Linked DNA regions of Homo sapiens: all the other regions are linked to region 2. Evidence: promoter capture Hi-C in 16 types of primary human blood cells and fetal thymus (Javierre and others, 2016). All regions are on one chromosome and are shown on one strand. The core of a region is centred on a gene start or on the middle of the fragment in contact, and the rest is flanking DNA. Distances in the headings are between cores, read along the strand shown. Region 1 overlaps NPAT (nuclear protein, coactivator of histone transcription). Region 2 holds the start of POGLUT3 (protein O-glucosyltransferase 3). Region 3 overlaps NPAT (nuclear protein, coactivator of histone transcription). Region 4 overlaps NPAT (nuclear protein, coactivator of histone transcription). Region 5 overlaps CUL5 (cullin 5).

Region 1 (3,031 bases), core at 344-2,843, 330 kb after region 2:
ATAAACAGAAAAGACAGACTAATTCATCACATAGTTGTATAAAACCCAATGTTGTGGGGGAGTTTTTAAAAATAGCTCTTATAGTCATGGTCTTCAGGGAATTCATCATCTTTTTGGAGAAATTTTCAAGAAAAACTTGAATTTCAGCCGGTTATGGTGGCTCACGCCTGTAATCCCAGCACTTTGGGAGGCCGAGGTGGGCCGATCGATCACCTGAGGTCAGGAGTTTGAGACCAGCCTCGAGAACATGGTGAAACCTCATTTCTACTAAAAATACAAAAAAATGAGCCAGGCATGGTGGCAGGTGCCTGTAATTACAGCTACTTGGGAGGCTGAGGCAGGAGAATCTCGTGAACCCAGGAGACAGAGGTTTCAGTGAGCCAAGATCATGCCATTGCACTTCAGCCTGGGCAACAAGAGCGAGACTCTGTCTCAAAAAAAAAAAAAAACTTGAATTTCTTCCTTTATAAAATCCTTTCTAATTGATCTCTGTCTTTAAAATCCTTTGTTTATGGCTGGGCTCAGTGGCTCATGACTGTAATCCCAGCACTTTGGGAGGCCGAGGCGGGCAGATCACCCGAGGTCAGGAGTTCAAGACCAGCCTGGCCAACATGGTGAAACCCCGTATCTACTAAAAATACAAAAATTGGCATGGTGGTGGGCACCTGTAATCCCAGCTGCTTGGGAGGCTGAGACAGAAGAATCTAAAGCTGGGAGGCAGAGGTTGCAGTGAGCCAAGATCGCACCACTGCACTTCAGCCTGGGTGACAGAGTAAGACTCTGTCTCCAAAAAAAAAAAAAAAAAAAAAAATCCTTTTTTCATAGGGGCTCTTGTGGCATTTATTGCGTGCTGTGTTATATGTAGTTAGTGATTGATATGCCTATCATATTGATAATTTTTTATTGTATGTTCCTCAGAGATAGTGCTCATGGCACATTTATTTACATTTCCTTATGTGTTGGTTCCCAAGCTTCCCTCTTTTCCCTTTTTGTTACATTATAGACATACAATAAAATTTCATTAAATATCAACAATTAGTATTAAACCTAATGGGTCTGTTTTACGTGCTGTTACAAATTACATAAAGGAGAGGTCAGAATTAATAGAGAATGTGGGGCTTGAGCTAAAGCTTAAAGAATGAAGGTAGGATTTGGAGTTAAAGCAAGGAAGTTTTTATAACTTATAAAATCTGTAAGTTATAAAGAGAAGCAGCACCAGCATAGACAGAGAGACCGTAGTAGGTTGCATGAAAATGAGGGGATCAACCTGACAGTAGTGTATTAGGCAAAAGTTTGTTTATGGACAGGACTAAATTACAGTAGCCACAAACTATGTTGTTGACTTCTGAGGACCATGTAGACATTGTAATTTTCCCTCCATAGTTTTGACCAGTTACGTGCTTACCTTACCCCCTTTTGATCAATACCATTGAGATATGTAATAGGTTGGGGTTACAAGTGTAGTCCTGGGTATAAATATTCAGTTGGGGTTGTAATTTTCTGGTGTAAGGTTCAGACTTGAAACATTCACCACTCATTTTCTAACTAGTTTCATTATTTCTAGAGGAATCCAGATATGATTGTAATATGATGTCTTGGCTGTAGAGTCTTATGCTTGATCAGCATGGTTCACTGACTGAATAACATTAAGACCACCTTAATATTTGGATTGACTTTTTCTTAATTTGTTAGCCTTGCTGTTTTTCCTAAAACTGTTTCAGTTTCGTTTTTTTTGTTTTGTTTTGTTTTGTTTTTGGAGAGTGGATCGTAAGGAAGAGGGATTGTTCATAGAATTTATTTCAAAGCAGTAATTAATTTGTGCCAAACATTTGTTTGTTTTGTGCCAAAACATTTCAGAGAAAATCTTTTTTTAACAAGAATTGTTTTTTTAGGATCTGCCATAATAATTGCCTCTCCAGTCCAGCCTGTACTCCAAGGAATGGTAGGGATGATCCCAGTATCTGTGGTTGGACAGAATGGAAATAACTTTTCTACTCCTCCTCGGCAGGTAAGATTTATGAACTGAAAATGGTGTGGTGATGCTTTTCAAGCTTAGTGTAATTAATGGCTTTTTCTCTTCCAGGTTCTTCATATGCCTTTGACAGCACCTGTATGCAATAGAAGTATCCCTCAATTCCCCGTCCCTCCAAAATCTCAGAAGGCTCAGGGACTAAGAAACAAGCCTTGTATAGGTACCATTTTTAATTTCATTAATGTTAACTTTATGTTTGTATGTTCATTTGTTTGCAGCAACACCTAAATGTTTTCTTTCTGAATACCTAAACCATTTTAAAACAAGTGATCACCCTACATTTGCTAGTAACAGATGTCATAATGCAGCCAACTGTTACTGAACAGCTTTGGTTCTGAGAAAATTGTCTCCTTTGTTGAATCTGTTAGCTTTTGCCCAGTAGTCCTTGGTTTGTTCTTTGCAGCTTCCCTAAATTAAGTATAGTCCCTATTTTTCCCAACAGCTTTCAAGTGTTTAATGAATGCCTCGTATAATTGTATGAGACTTTAGAGCAGTTCTTCTTGTAGTTTAGTGTGTATATGAACTATTTGGGGATTTTGTTAAATGCAGGTACTGAATTGATAGGTCTGGTACAGCACCTGAAATTCCTCATTTCTAACAGCTTCTAAGCAATGCCAGTGCTGCTGGTACTGGACCACACTTGAAGCAAGGCTTTAAAGTTTGCAAATTACCTTCCTGTGTTCCCTGTTTTAGCCATTGTCCCAACCATCTGTTTACTTGTGAAAAACCTGGTAGTCACTCTTAAAACACATTTTCCTCTCCTTCTTAGTTCAAGTATTTGTCATTTTTCATCTAAGTTGTATCAATAGTGTCATGTAGTCTCCCTTCTTTTAGTCTCTGTTGTTTCAGTTCACCTCATATCTGCTGGCTGAGTGACTTTTTTTCCCTAAAATACAAATCTGAATATGTTGCTTTCCTGCCTAAAAACTTTCAGCAACTCCCCTTTGCCCAAAGGATAAAATTGAAATTTCTCAGGGTGACATATGTGCATACATTTGT
Region 2 (3,337 bases), core at 6-2,505:
TTCCTGGATCCAGCGTTCATCTTCTGAGGAGTGGTGGAGGTGGCTGAGACCAACCACGCACCACCACCCCTTCTCCCACTTCGATTACAGAGGCTTTGAGGTAAAGCTCGCACAAGGGCTCAAGGCAAGGCCTGGTCTTCTGCCACCCCAGTGCCCAGCTCCTCACTCTGGGCTTGGCCCAAACTCCGTGGATGTTCTGTAAACACCTGCTGGAAGAAGAGGAGTGCGGGAGGAAGCGGGGAAAGGGATGTGTGGGGTGGGGGGATCACGGTTCTGTGAGGGAGGCTGCTAAGCAGAAAAGCAACAAAACCGGCCACAAGAGAACGGTGCTGCTGTGAACAGAGGGCTGTGAGGGAGGGCGGGGGGCGTGACCTTGGCGCTCATCTTGTAAACTCGGAGACATTCCTTGGGAAAAGATATTTCCCTAAACTACATCGATCTTGGGGCCGGACCCTTTCATCGTCCCACAACAATCACCACCGGGTCTACGTCCTTTAAAAACACCTGAGCGGCGGACCCGGTGGCTCATGCCTGTAATCCCGGCACTTTGGGAAGCCGAGGCGGGCGGATTGCTTGAAACCAGGAGTTCAAGACCACCTTGGGCAACATAGGGAGACCCCGTCTCTACAAATAGTAATAGTAATAATAATAATAATAATAATAATAATAATAATAATAATAAATTAAATTAGCCAGCGTGGTGTCGTGTGCCTACAGTCAGTCCCAGCTACTCGGGAGGCTGAGGCGGGAGGATCTCCTGAGCCCACGAGTTCCAGGCTGCAGTGAGCTGTGGTCGCGCCATTGCACTCCAGCCTAGGCGACAGAGCCAGCCCCCTTGTCTGTATAAAAACAGAGAAAGAAAAGAGAAGAAAGAAGGAAAGGAAGGAAGAAAAAGAAAGGGAAAGACCACTGGAAGTGGAGGCCAGGCGTGCCTGAAGCCTTGGCAATCAACAGCCAGCGCACACTCGCAGCCTCGGTCTCTGGGCGGGCCTCTCCACCCCTTTCCTCCACGGGGCCTATGGGGCTGCGGGGAGGAAGGGGCGCACCCATCGTCGACCCCTACAGGGCGCGCAGTGGGTGATTGCGGCACTGGCTCGCGTTCCCGCCCGAGGGAGACGAGGCGGGACAGCGGGCGGGAAAGGGAGCCTGCGCCGCAATCTTTCCCGCCCGAAAGACCCGCCCCGCGGTGGGCCCCAGTCCCCGCCCGGTCCGCGGCGCTGCCGGCCCCTCCTCGCCGCCGCGGAGCTGGACCGCAGTTGTGCCCCGCCGACCATGCGCCGCCTCCCGCGGGCCCTGCTGCTGCAGCTGCGCCTCGCCCTGCTGGTGGCCGCGGGGGCCCCGGAGGTGCTGGTCAGCGCGCCGCGGAGCCTGGTGTGGGGGCCCGGGCTGCAGGCGGCCGTCGTCCTGCCGGTCCGCTATTTCTACCTGCAGGCGGTCAACTCGGAGGGCCAGAACCTCACTCGCTCTCCCGCAGGTAGTGTCCAGCCGCCGGCCTCCCTCGTCCCGCGGCCGGGTCCCCGCGCGTCCCCGCCGCCCGGGAGTCCGCCCGCGGCCTGCGTGGCGTCCCTCCCCGGCGTGTGTCGCCCCTTTTTGGGTCTGGTCAGCTCCTCTTCCCTCCTCCCGCCCATACTCAAAGCGGGCAAAAATCACCACGAAAGTTTGTGGAATGAATGAATGAATGAACTTGAAGGGCCCTTCCGCATTTAATGTGCAGGGACTGATGTTGCGAATGGACGGCGCCCGGGCGTTACAAGGAGTGTGCCGTGAGTCACACGTTGCCTTCCATCTCGGACTTAGTTGTCTGAACTGTGAGGGATTGCAGGGAGCGCTTTCCAGTGGTGAGTCATCAAGCCGACGGATCGCGTCGGATTACATGGCTTAGGCCTGGTGGGTTTGGAGCAACGAAATCCTACGCAGAGGAAATGTCAGAGCCGTAGGAAGGAGGAGGGGTTTACGTGTTAGTTTTTTGTTTCCTTTTTAGTTCTGAGTTTTTGAAAGCAGATTACAGGAACTAGGGAAACTCAGTAGAAATCATTCGGTTTTCCCTCCACGGAGGGTGAGATGGATCTCGTCCTGAATCCCTTTCTGCCCGGTCCTCCTCCCACGTTGTCCTTCACGTCTTAACCTTTGCAACTTCTTAAAACTTGTCCTGCTGGTTTCACGCTGTTGTCAGTCAGGATTTGCTAATGTATAATTTGGGGCTCTGGCCAACTAGCACCTTGTTGTATCAGCGAAGAGACAATTAGAATAAACCAGTGCCTCTGCCCCTGCTAGTCCAGCTGGGAACATAGCTGCCAGAAGTGTGTCCCAACTTGGGAAAGGGGTAAGGGGGTCTTGACAGCTGGGCAAAGCAGAGAATTTAGGAACCAAACATAATTCACTTTTAGATTTAATGATTTTTAAAATTTCATTCATTCAAGAAATACTTCTTTGATGTCTACTTCTGTGTTTGGTAATTCTGCTGGGAATCTAAGGATGAAAAGACAATGCCTGACCATCAAGGAACTTACAGTCTGTTGGTCAAAGACATGCAAATAACTGATCACTGTACAAGATAATTGAAGGTATGTACAGAGTGCAGTGGCAACATTGAAGCACTGCCAGAGACTGGAGAAATCCAGGAAGATTTCAGGAGCAGAGACTTGAAGGATGAGAAGGTTTGCTGGGCAGGCATATAGAAGGACGCCATGGCATGTGCAGAAGCACAGAGGCGTAGGAGACCGTGGTGTTCGGGAAAATAAGTACTGTAATTTAATGATACTGAGCGGAAAAGCCTGGTTGATTGTAGCCTCTGGTCTTCAAGCGCCTTGAATGCCAAGCAAATGACTTTATAACTAGATAAAAGAGAGCCACTGGAGAAATTTGAGCTGAGGCAAGAATCTGCCTCTCCCTTAACTACCTCAGTGGCTTGTTTTCTACATTTGATTCAGAACACCACTCCTGAAGTTGTCTTTGGGCATTGCTTTGATAACGTGTCTACCAGTTAGACCCTAAATACTCAGACAACTGGTTTCATATGCATGATATGCATTTAGGTAAAATAATTCCGACTCTATTGACAGAAACGCATGTGTGTATATCAGGGTTTCACAAACTTTTTCTTTAAAGGGCCAGATAGTAAATAATTTAGGCTTTGTAGGTGATATCATCTCTCACATTTATTCAGCTGTGCTTTGTAGCCATGGACATATAACAAACCCGTTTATGTTACAATAAAACTTTTTATGGCCACTGAAATTTCAATTTCATATAGTTTTCCATAAGTCACAGAATATTATTATTTTGATTTTTCTCCAACCCCCCTCCTCCTTTTTTTTTTTTAAGAGACAAGGTCTTT
Region 3 (3,180 bases), core at 603-3,102, 290 kb after region 2:
TGGCTGGAAGCGATGGAATGGTAAAACATAGGCTGAAGAGGAAATTAGGGTACAAAGCAAGTAGAACCTCATACGACACATTAAAAATTTGAAATCATAGGCCGGGTGCAGTGGCTCACGCGTGTAATCCCAGCACTTTGGGAGGCCGAGGCGGGCAAATCACCTGAGGTCAGGAGTTCCAGACCAGCCTGGCCAACATGGCAAAACCCCATCTCTACTAAAAATATAAAAATTAGCCAGGCATGGTGGCAGGCGTCTGTAATCCCAGCTACTTGGGAGGCTGAGGCAGGAGAATCGCTTGAACCTGGGAGGCAGAGGTTGCAGTGAGCCGAGATTGCATCATTGCACTCCAGCACAGGTGACAAGAGCGGGACTCCATCTCAAAAAAAAAAAAAAAAAATTGGAATCATATTTTTTTATTGAGATATGATGCACATACTACAAAATGTAAACTTCGTTGTTTTTCAGGGTATGAAAATCCAGGATATTTATGGATTCATAATGTGCAGATATCACCAGTAATTTCAATATTTCCATCACTCCAAAGAGAATCCTTATACTATTAAGTCACTTCCAATTCCCCCTTGCCCCGTCCTCTGCCAACCACAAATCTACTTTCTGTATCTATACATGTGCCTTGCCTGGACATTGCACATAAATGAAATAGAATATTTCGCTTTTTGTGTCTGACTTTCACATAGCATAATGTTTTCAGCCTTATTCCATGTTGTAGCAGGTATTAGTACTTCATTCCTTTTTATAGCTGAATATTTCATTATATGAATATGCCATATTTTGTTTGTCCATTCATTAATGGACACTGTTATGAAAAATGCAGGCCAGCTGTAATGGCTCACCCTGTAATCCCAACACTTTGGGAGGCCAAGGCAGGAGGATTGCTTGAAGCCAGGGGAGCGAGACCAGCCTGGGCAGCATACTGAGACACCCCATCTGTACCAATAAGTAAGTAATTAGCTGGGCATTTATTTGGTGGTACATGCCTCTAGTCCTAGCTACTGGGTTGGCTGAAGTGGGAGGATCACTTCAGCCCAGGAGTTCAAGGTTATAGTGAGCTATGATTGAGCCACTCTACTTCAGCCTGGGTGACAGAGCAAGACTCTGTCTCTGAAAAAAAATAAACTGACCATAAATGTCTGGATTCCATGCTTCAGAGTTGACTAGATAAATAAGAAAGGTCTGGATTTTTTATTTTGTTCCACTAATTTCTGTGTCTAACCTCATGCCCGTACATCGTCTGGATTACTGTAGCTTTACAGTAAGTTTTGAAATTGGTAAGTGTAAGTGCTTCAACTTTTTCTTCATTTTCAAGATTATTTTGGCTATTCCAGCCCCCTTGTATTACCTTAGGAGTTTTAGGATGTTTGTCAATTTCTGCACAAAAGGCAGTTGAGATTATGATAGGAATTGTGTTGAATGTATCGGTGAATTTTGGGAGTATTGAGTTTTTAACAATATTGAACCTTTCAGTCCATGAACACAGTATGTCTTTGCGTGGATTTAGGTCTTTAATTTCCTCCAGTGACGTTTTCCAGTTTTTAGTATGCAAGTCCTTTACTTTTGTTAAACTTATTCCTAAGTATTTTATTTCTTTTGATGCTATTGTAACTAGCATTGCATTCTTAATTTTTGGTAGTTCATTGAGATTTATTGACTTTTATATATTCACTGTGTATCCTGCAACCTTGTCGAAGTCATTTATTAGCTCTAATAGTTTTTGTTTTGTTTCGTTTTGTTTTTGGGACAGAGTTTCGCTCTTGTTGCCCAGGCTGGAGTGCAATGGCGCAATCTTGGCTCACCACAACCTCTGCCTCCCGGGTTCAAGCGATTCTCCTGCCTCAGCCTCTGGAATAGCTGGGATTACAGGCATGCATCACCTTGCCCAGCTAACTTTGTATTTTTAGTAGCACCAGGGTTTCTCCATGTTGGTCAGGCTGGTCTCGAACTCCCGACCTCAGGTGATTTGCTGGCCTTGGCCTCCCAAAGTGCTGGATTATAGGCATGAGCCACCATGCCCCGCCCAGGGAGGTTTCTTAACTCCTTTTTTTTTTTTTTTTTTTTTTTTTTTGAGACAGAGTCTTGCTCTGTTGCCCAGGCTGGAGTGCAATGGCACCATCTCGGCTCATTGCAACCTCCACCTCCCTGGTTCAAGTGATTCCCCTGCCTCAGCCTCCCTAGCAGCTGGGATTAAGGTGGACACCACCATGCCTGGCTCATTTTTTTGTATTTTTAGTAGAGACGGGGTTTCACCATGTTGGCCAGACTGGTCTCGAACTCCTGACCTCAGGCAATCTGCCTGCCTTGGCCTCCCAGAGTGCTGGGATTATAGGTATGAGCCGTGGTGCCTGGCCTCTAATAGTTTTTTTGTTGTTGTTGTTGTTGTTTTTTATGGCTTCCTTAGGATTTTCTATATAAGACATGTCATCTGCAAATAGGGGTAATCTTGATTTTTTCCTTTCCAATCTGGATGCTTTTTTTTTTTTTCTTTTGAGACGGAGTCTCTCTCTGTTGCCCAGGCTAGAGTGCAGTGGCCCTATCTCAGCTCACTGCAACCTCCACCTCCCGGATTCAAGCAATTCTCCTGCCTCTGCCTCCTGAGTAGTTGGCATTACAGGCATGCACCACCACACCTGGCTAATTTTTGTATTTTTAGTAGAGACGGGGTTTCACCATGTTGAGCAGGCTGGTCTGGAACTCCTGACCTCAAATGATCCGCCCAGCTCGGCCTCCCAAAGTGCTGGGATTACAGGTGTGAGCCACTGCACCCGGCCTGGATGCTTTTTATTTCAAGTTTTTTCCTAATTGCCCTGGCTAGAGGATACATGCAATGTTGAATAGAAATGACAAGAACAGACCTTCTTACCTTTTCCCTGATCTTATGGGGAAAGGTTTGAATTTTAAACCATTGAAGATGATGTTACTTGGCTTTTTTTTTTTTTAATAGATAACTCTATGAGGTTGAGGAAATTTCTTTTTATTTCTAGTGTTTTTATCATGAAAGGGTGTTGGATTTTGTTTTTTTTGGTTTCTTTGGTAGAGTTTTGTTTTGTTTTGTTTTGCTTTTGAAACAGGTTCTTACTCTGTCATCCAGGCTGGACTGCAGTGGCATGATTATGGCCCACTGCAGCCTCAGCCTCCCAGACTAAAACTATCCTTCTACCT
Region 4 (3,382 bases), core at 174-2,673, 310 kb after region 2:
CTACTTCCTTGCCTTTGTTGATGTCAGTCTGTCCTCCTGGAATGAGGAATGCCTTTCTACTTCTCTATCTTTACATGTTAGAAATCCTACATATGCCTGGCTGAACCTTAGAGTTAGGAATATCCTTAGAGAGTGTGTGGTATATCTTATTTGTTGCATACTTGAAACTTCTGAAAACACATGGTAGTTAAGGGATAAGAAGCTAGTTAATAACAGAGTTGGGATTAGAATTCAGGAGTTAGCACTCTCAGTTCACAAACCAATTATCTTTCTGTGCAGCTAAAATTTGTTGCCATCAAGATCTCCCTCATTTTCACCTTTTCCAAATCCTTTTCTACACCCAGAATGCTTAGTTTATACTTCTTAGACTTTTTCCATTCTACTGTATTATTTTTTGTTGAGACTATATTGTACTTTGGATTTTATTGTAAAACCTTAAGGCATAAAGACTGTATTTTATTAATCTTAGTGTCTTTTACCATGCTTTACACATGGTAGGCACTCAGTACATGTTAATTGAATTTAATATAAAATAATAATCACTAATGCTTTTTATCCCATTACAAGTTTAGAAAACTATTCAGTTTCTTTGGCTTACTGTTATGTTTTCTTGAAATACAGCTGGAGAAGCTTTAAATGTCATTCCTGGTGCTCAGGAAAAGAAAGCACATGCCAGTTTAATGTCTCCCGGTAGACGCAAAAGGTAAATGCTTTTTAAAAGAGACAAGTTACCCGTATCCATTAAAAAAAAAAAAAAAGAATTACATCAGGATACTTACATTGTGAATAAACTAATAGGACCAGATTATGTTCTGATCTATATTAGAACTATTCCAAAATACATTGTCTTTCTTCACATTTTAACCTGCCTGAAATTGGGTTGCATCTCTCAATTAATGGCATATCACTGTTTCATGGGAAATATGTTTATTCTGTAATGGTATATAAAATAATGGTATATCTTACAAATGATGTTATCTGAGATTTTTTGCAATCCATGTTTTTTAACTGAATGTAAATAATACAGTTATGTTCTATGCTCCACACACATTTAAAGTCCTAAGATCAATTGATGGAATTTTTCCAGGCACAATCTTTGAGAAAAGTGTTTTTCCCAAAACACTTTTGAGAAAAGTGTGTCTTTGTTTGAAGGATATTTTTTGAAAGAGATAATAGTTTTAAAATGTTTATTCTAGTTTCTTAGCTCCCAAGCCCTGGGTATTTTTGTTAGAGTTTTTACTTTTGGTTGTCTTTCATTCAAGACTGACCTTAGTTAGCCTCCTTTATTGGAGCCTTTCTCACTTCACCATATAAAATAACAAACAGCAATATCCATTTTTTTATTTTTAGAGATAGGGCCTTGCTGTCTTGACCAGGTTAGAGTATAGTGGTACAATCATAACTCACTGCAGCCTCGAACTTGTGGGCTCAGAAGATCCTCCCACCTTAGCCTCCCCAGTAGCCAGCAGCACAGGCACATGCCGCCACACCCAGCTAATTTTTTTATTTTTTGTAGAGATGGGGGTCTCACTTTGTTGCCCAGGCTGGTCTGAAACTCCTGGCTTCAAGTGATCTTCCCACCTTGGCCTCCAAAATTGCTGGGATTACAGATGTGAGCCACCATGCCCAGCCATAAAAGAGCAACATTAATATTTAACATTTATAGGAACCCTGACTTTTTAAATAAAGTCTTTATATATACTTTATTTCATTCCATTCTTTAGTAAACCCAATAATGCAGTTGGTCATTATAAAGTAGGTTAGAGAGTCAGAGCTTGCTGTGCTTCAGACCATAGGTAGTAAGTGGTAAAGCTAGACTTCAAACTCATTTTTTTGAATTCAAGACTACTAATACTTTTTGTACTTCCCTTTGTTCCTAACACAAATAGAGAAAATATAGTTGACCTTGAATAACATGGGTTTCAACTGCATGGGTTCATTTATACTCAAGTTTTTTTCAACCGAACACAGATTAAAAATTTAGTAGTAAAACCTGCCTATATGCAGTGTGCTGACTTTTTGAATACATGGGCTTCCTAGTGCAGACTGTAGGACTTGAGTACATGTGGATTTTGATATCCTTGGGGGTCCTGAAACCAGCCCCCTGCAGATACAGGGACAACTGTATCTGTTCTGTTATGGTGATCTTAAAATTTATGTCTGTATATGTATTTATCTTTAAATCTGTTAAATATAGTGGTTAAAAGAAAAGCTTTTAAAATGTGTTTCAGTGAATCTCAGAGAAAAAGTACCACTTTGTCTGGCCCTCATTCAACAATACGGAATTTCCAAGATCCAAACGCTTTTGCAGTAGAAAAAGTAAGTGACTCTGCCAAACTTTGCAACTTAAAATATTCCTGAGTTTAAAAATACAGATATATACACAAATGTATGTATGTGTGTATGTATCAAATAAAGAAACAGGAGTAAGTTTATAGATATCTGTAAATACATTGTTGTTGTTGGATCATTTAATAAAATACTGGCCAGGTGCTATGGCAAACACCTGTAATCCCAGCACTTTGGGAAGCTGAGGTGGGCAGATTGCTTGAGCTCAGGAATTCAAGACCAACCTGGGCAACATGGTAAAACCCCCTCTCTACAAAAAATACAAATATTAGCTAGGTGTGGTAGCACGTGCCTGTAGTCCTAGCTGCTTGGGAGGCTGAGATGGGAGGACTGCTTGAGCCTGGGAGGTCAAGGCTGCAGTGAGCCATGATCATACCACTACACTCAAGCCTGGGTGACAGAGTCAGACCCTGTCTCAAAAAAAAAAACTGGCCGGCGAGTAGTGGCTTGTACCTGTAATCCCAGCACTTTGAGAGGCCAAAGCCAGCGGATCTCTTGAGGCCAGGAATTCAAGACCAGCCTGGACAACTGTCTCTACTAAAAATACAAAAATTAGCTGGGTGTGATGGCACACGCCCGTAATCCCAGCTACTATTCAGGAGGCTAAGGCACAAGAATTGCTTGAACTGCGAGGTGGAGGTTGCAGTGAACTGAGATTGTGCCACTGTACTCCAGGCTGGGCTATAGAGCGACACTGTAAAAATAGGGCATTTACTGGGGTTTGATGATGAGTGTGGAACTGTATAAGAAAGAGTTGGTGAAAGATCTGTGAAAACATTTGCAAATTATGAAGTGTTGTATTCAGGTATTAATATGGAGGGAGCCATCACAACTTCTGAGTTTCCATTTAGGTTTATTAAAACTATCCAGCTCTTATCGGTTTGTTCTTTTCTTATAAATATTAAATAGCAGAATACTCTTTATTGTCCTTTTGCTAACAGTGGCTTTCTTTTCCAGCAAATGGTTATTGAAAATGCACGAGAAAAAATACTAAGCAACAAATCTCTTCAAGAAAAGCTAGCAGAAAACATAA
Region 5 (2,978 bases), core at 333-2,832, 430 kb after region 2:
GTTAGCCAGGATAGTCTCGATCTCCTGACCTTGTGATCTGCCCACCTCGGCCTCCCAAAGTGCTGGGATTACAGGCGTGAGCCACCTTGCCCAGCTCCCTGTTTTACAGAGAAAATAGTAATTTCAATTACTATTTTCAATTTTCAATTCTGTATTTTTAAAAATTTAATGTTTTTATTTGTAATCAACACATAATGGTACATATTATGGGGTACAATGTTATATTTCAATGCATGTATATACTATAATGATCAAATTGGGGTAACTACTATATCCATCACTTCAAACATTTATAATTTCTTTGTGGTAACAACATAAAAAATCTCTTCTATCTTGAAATATACACTACATTGTTACTTGCTATATCCGCCCTAATGGGTAATAGAACACCAAAACTTATTCTTCCTATTGAACTATAACTTTATACCCCACTAACCAACCTCTTCTGCTCCCCCAACCCCCAGCCTCTGGTAACCGCTCACTATTTTCAATAATCCTACATTTAAAAAATAGCCTTGATATATATCTATCATTGCCATTGAAAAAAAACTTACAGTAGTAATAGTTTCAGCAGCTGCTACCATATCTGCCAGGCCAGCACTAATGATATGTTCCTCCAAGTCTTTCAACATTGGCTCTATACCATTAGGAACTTTGTCCATCAATGAAAACATTAAATGTAATTCTGGAAGGAGAGAACACATTCATGTAATCATTTCATTTACTAGAGTAAGAGTTTAGAGAAACATTAGTTAAGTTTGTAATGTTAATAGTATTCTGTGGATACAATGCCATTAGGAGTAGTTGTTCGTTTTTTTGTTGTTGTTTTTTTGTTTTTGAGACAGGGTCCCAGTCTGTCACCCAAGCTGGAGTACAGTGGCTCGATCACGGCTCACTGCAGCCTTGACCTCTTGGGCGCAAGCAATCCTCCCATCTCAGCCTCCTGAGTAGCTGGGACCACAGGCACATGTCACCATGCCTGGCTAATGTTTTTTGTAATTTTGTAGAGACAGGGTCTCCCAATGTTGCCCAAGCTGGTCTCAAACTTCGGGGCTCACACAATCCTCTCGCCTTGGTCTCTCAAAGTGCTGGGATCATAGGTATGAGCCACTGTACTTAGTCTAAAAATTATGTTTAAAAAAAAATCGAATTAAAAGTGATCAGGCTGGGTGTGGTGGTTCACGCTTGTAACTCCAGCACTTTGGGAGGCCAAGGTGGGAGGATCATTTGAGCCCAGGAGTTAAAAAGACCAGTCAGGGCAACATGGCAAAACCCATCGTTACACAAAAACAAACAAACAAAATTAGCTGGGTGTGGTGGTGCATGTCTTTGGTCCCAGATACTTGGGAGGCTGAAGTGTGAGGAATGCCTAAGCCCAGGAGGCTGAGGCTGCAGTGAGCCGTGATTGCACCATTGCACTCAGCCTGGGTGACAGGGCAAGACGGTCTCAAAAAATAAAAATAAAAAAAGTGATCAAATACTGCAAAACCCAACTCCTTTCTTTAAAAGGTCAGTCATTTGGCCAGAAGCAGTGGAGATCAGCCTGGGCAACAAGGTGGGGCTCTGCCTCTACAAAAAATACAAAAATTAGCCAGGCATGGTGGTACACGGCTGTAGTCCCAGCTACTCAGTGGGCTGGGAGGTGGGAGGATCGCTTGAGCCCAGGAGGTCAAGGCTACAGTGAATTGTGATCGTGCCATCGAATTCCAGGTTGGGCAACACAGCGAGACCCAGTCTCAAAAGAAAAGGTGAGTCATTTGGTTTTCAGTGCAAAGGAATATTTATTTACACACAAGATTAGTTTATTTCATAAGGTAGTTGTAATACTACATATACAGCCATATCATCAAAAGGTAAAAAACATGAGTAATAATTACGAAAGCAACTATATTAGAGATTAGAATATAAAACTGTATTCATAAATAATTTTTCAATTTACAAAGCACTTTTTCATGTTATGCCATTTTATTGACCTTCACAAAAACCCTACCTCACGGTACTGATTACCACTAAATAAATCCTTTTGAAAAGAGTGCAACATAGATCAGACATAACTCTAATTAGACTGGCACACAGAATACAAGTATTTTGTTTACGCCAATAAAGCAGCTTGCTTTTTACTACTGAATTACTCCTAAAAAGTGTATGAACTTAAGTGAATTGAAATATGCACTTTAAATGCAACTAGAGATTAAACAGGACCTTGCAGTTAGATATAATAAAACCTGGAAACTCAGTAGAAGTACGTTATTTAAAAAACAAAAGCAAAAAAATGTTAAAAGCAGTTTTACTGGGGTAGTAGGTATATGTACAATTTTTTTTTTTAGTTTGTTATATACTTGCTACCTCTCAAAACACATCTTTTTAAGAAAACATTGAAGTAATAAAAAAATCCTTTAGAAATCTTATAAAGTATTTTGGGGGACAGAGATGACTATTAACAGGGAGTGTTTTATTACATTCTAAAAAGATTCATCACAAGGTTCCACACAAAAGTCAAATACCTGGTTCTAATCTATAACATATGTTTCCAGTTTAAACTGGCCTTTAAAAGCAGTGTCTTGCTTTTGAGAAAAAAGTAGAAATTCACCATACACATACACAGATGTTGATAGCTAAGAGGGAAAATGCTTAAAATTTAAGTTTATATACTCTTAGCAGTGCCTCTGTGTTAAATATTTTATCTATTTCCTTAAGTATAGTTCACTCTAACAGTTCCACATATACCTATGTGGAAAAGAATTAACTAAGAGCAACTTAGTAAGTGATTTGTTTCAAAGATACCCTCTTAGAAGATTATGATAACTTTATGTGATGTTTTACCTACTTTCAGTTTCATTTCTCTTGATCATGCCTTGGCACTCAGCTAAGATAGTCTCTTTAAATGATGTCACCAGGGCATTTACACAGCATTCCATGAGCTGAAATATATCAAAAATTAGTCAAGGCTACTATAAGCTGTATAGCACAAATCTATT

What was found. The method cuts DNA at HindIII sites, captures the fragments that hold promoters and counts their contacts. A CHiCAGO score of 5 or more calls a contact.
Region 1: a contact is called between a fragment that was not itself captured here and the fragment with the promoter of POGLUT3 in region 2, in 3 of 17 cell types (total CD4 T cells, total CD8 T cells and naive CD4 T cells). The highest score is 7.2, in total CD4 T cells.
Region 3: a fragment that was not itself captured here is called in contact with the fragment with the promoter of POGLUT3 in region 2 in 3 of 17 cell types (total CD4 T cells, naive CD4 T cells and naive CD8 T cells); the score reaches 7.2 in total CD4 T cells.
Region 4: a fragment that was not itself captured here is called in contact with the fragment with the promoter of POGLUT3 in region 2 in 2 of 17 cell types (naive CD4 T cells and non-activated CD4 T cells); the score reaches 5.5 in naive CD4 T cells.
Region 5: a contact is called between a fragment that was not itself captured here and the fragment with the promoter of POGLUT3 in region 2, in 5 of 17 cell types (total CD4 T cells, naive CD8 T cells, non-activated CD4 T cells and 2 more). The highest score is 10.9, in total CD4 T cells.

The regions. Positions count from the first base shown.
Region 1 is chr11:108,168,905-108,171,935 of GRCh38, reverse strand. NPAT (nuclear protein, coactivator of histone transcription) reads left to right here. Exons shown (of 18, transcript NM_002519.3): 14 at 1,893-2,008; 15 at 2,084-2,192. Among named protein-coding and RNA genes, the nearest start is that of ACAT1, 49 kb to the right of the region's middle. The HindIII fragment of the contact is 921 bases long and covers 1,133-2,053 here.
Region 2 is chr11:108,496,302-108,499,638 of GRCh38, reverse strand. It overlaps POGLUT3 (protein O-glucosyltransferase 3), which reads left to right and starts at 1,255. Exons shown (of 8, transcript NM_153705.5): 1 at 1,255-1,474. The coding sequence starts at 1,273. It overlaps LOC112267909 (a long non-coding RNA gene), which reads right to left and starts at 578. Exons shown (of 3, transcript XR_007062880.1): 1 at 1-578. RefSeq lists a silencer at 1,103-1,622. The HindIII fragment of the contact is 8,220 bases long and covers 1-3,337 here.
Region 3 is chr11:108,211,852-108,215,031 of GRCh38, reverse strand. All of the region lies in intron 1 of NPAT (nuclear protein, coactivator of histone transcription), which reads left to right. Among named protein-coding and RNA genes, the nearest start is that of NPAT, 9.2 kb to the left of the region's middle. The HindIII fragment of the contact is 5,376 bases long and covers 1-3,180 here.
Region 4 is chr11:108,185,419-108,188,800 of GRCh38, reverse strand. It overlaps NPAT (nuclear protein, coactivator of histone transcription), which reads left to right. Exons shown (of 18, transcript NM_002519.3): 7 at 622-703; 8 at 2,232-2,319; 9 at 3,307-3,382. Among named protein-coding and RNA genes, the nearest start is that of NPAT, 36 kb to the left of the region's middle. The HindIII fragment of the contact is 1,582 bases long and covers 633-2,214 here.
Region 5 is chr11:108,070,039-108,073,016 of GRCh38, reverse strand. CUL5 (cullin 5) reads right to left here. Exons shown (of 19, transcript NM_003478.6): 8 at 2,828-2,921; 9 at 555-685. Among named protein-coding and RNA genes, the nearest start is that of ACAT1, 50 kb to the left of the region's middle. The HindIII fragment of the contact is 4,040 bases long and covers 1-2,978 here.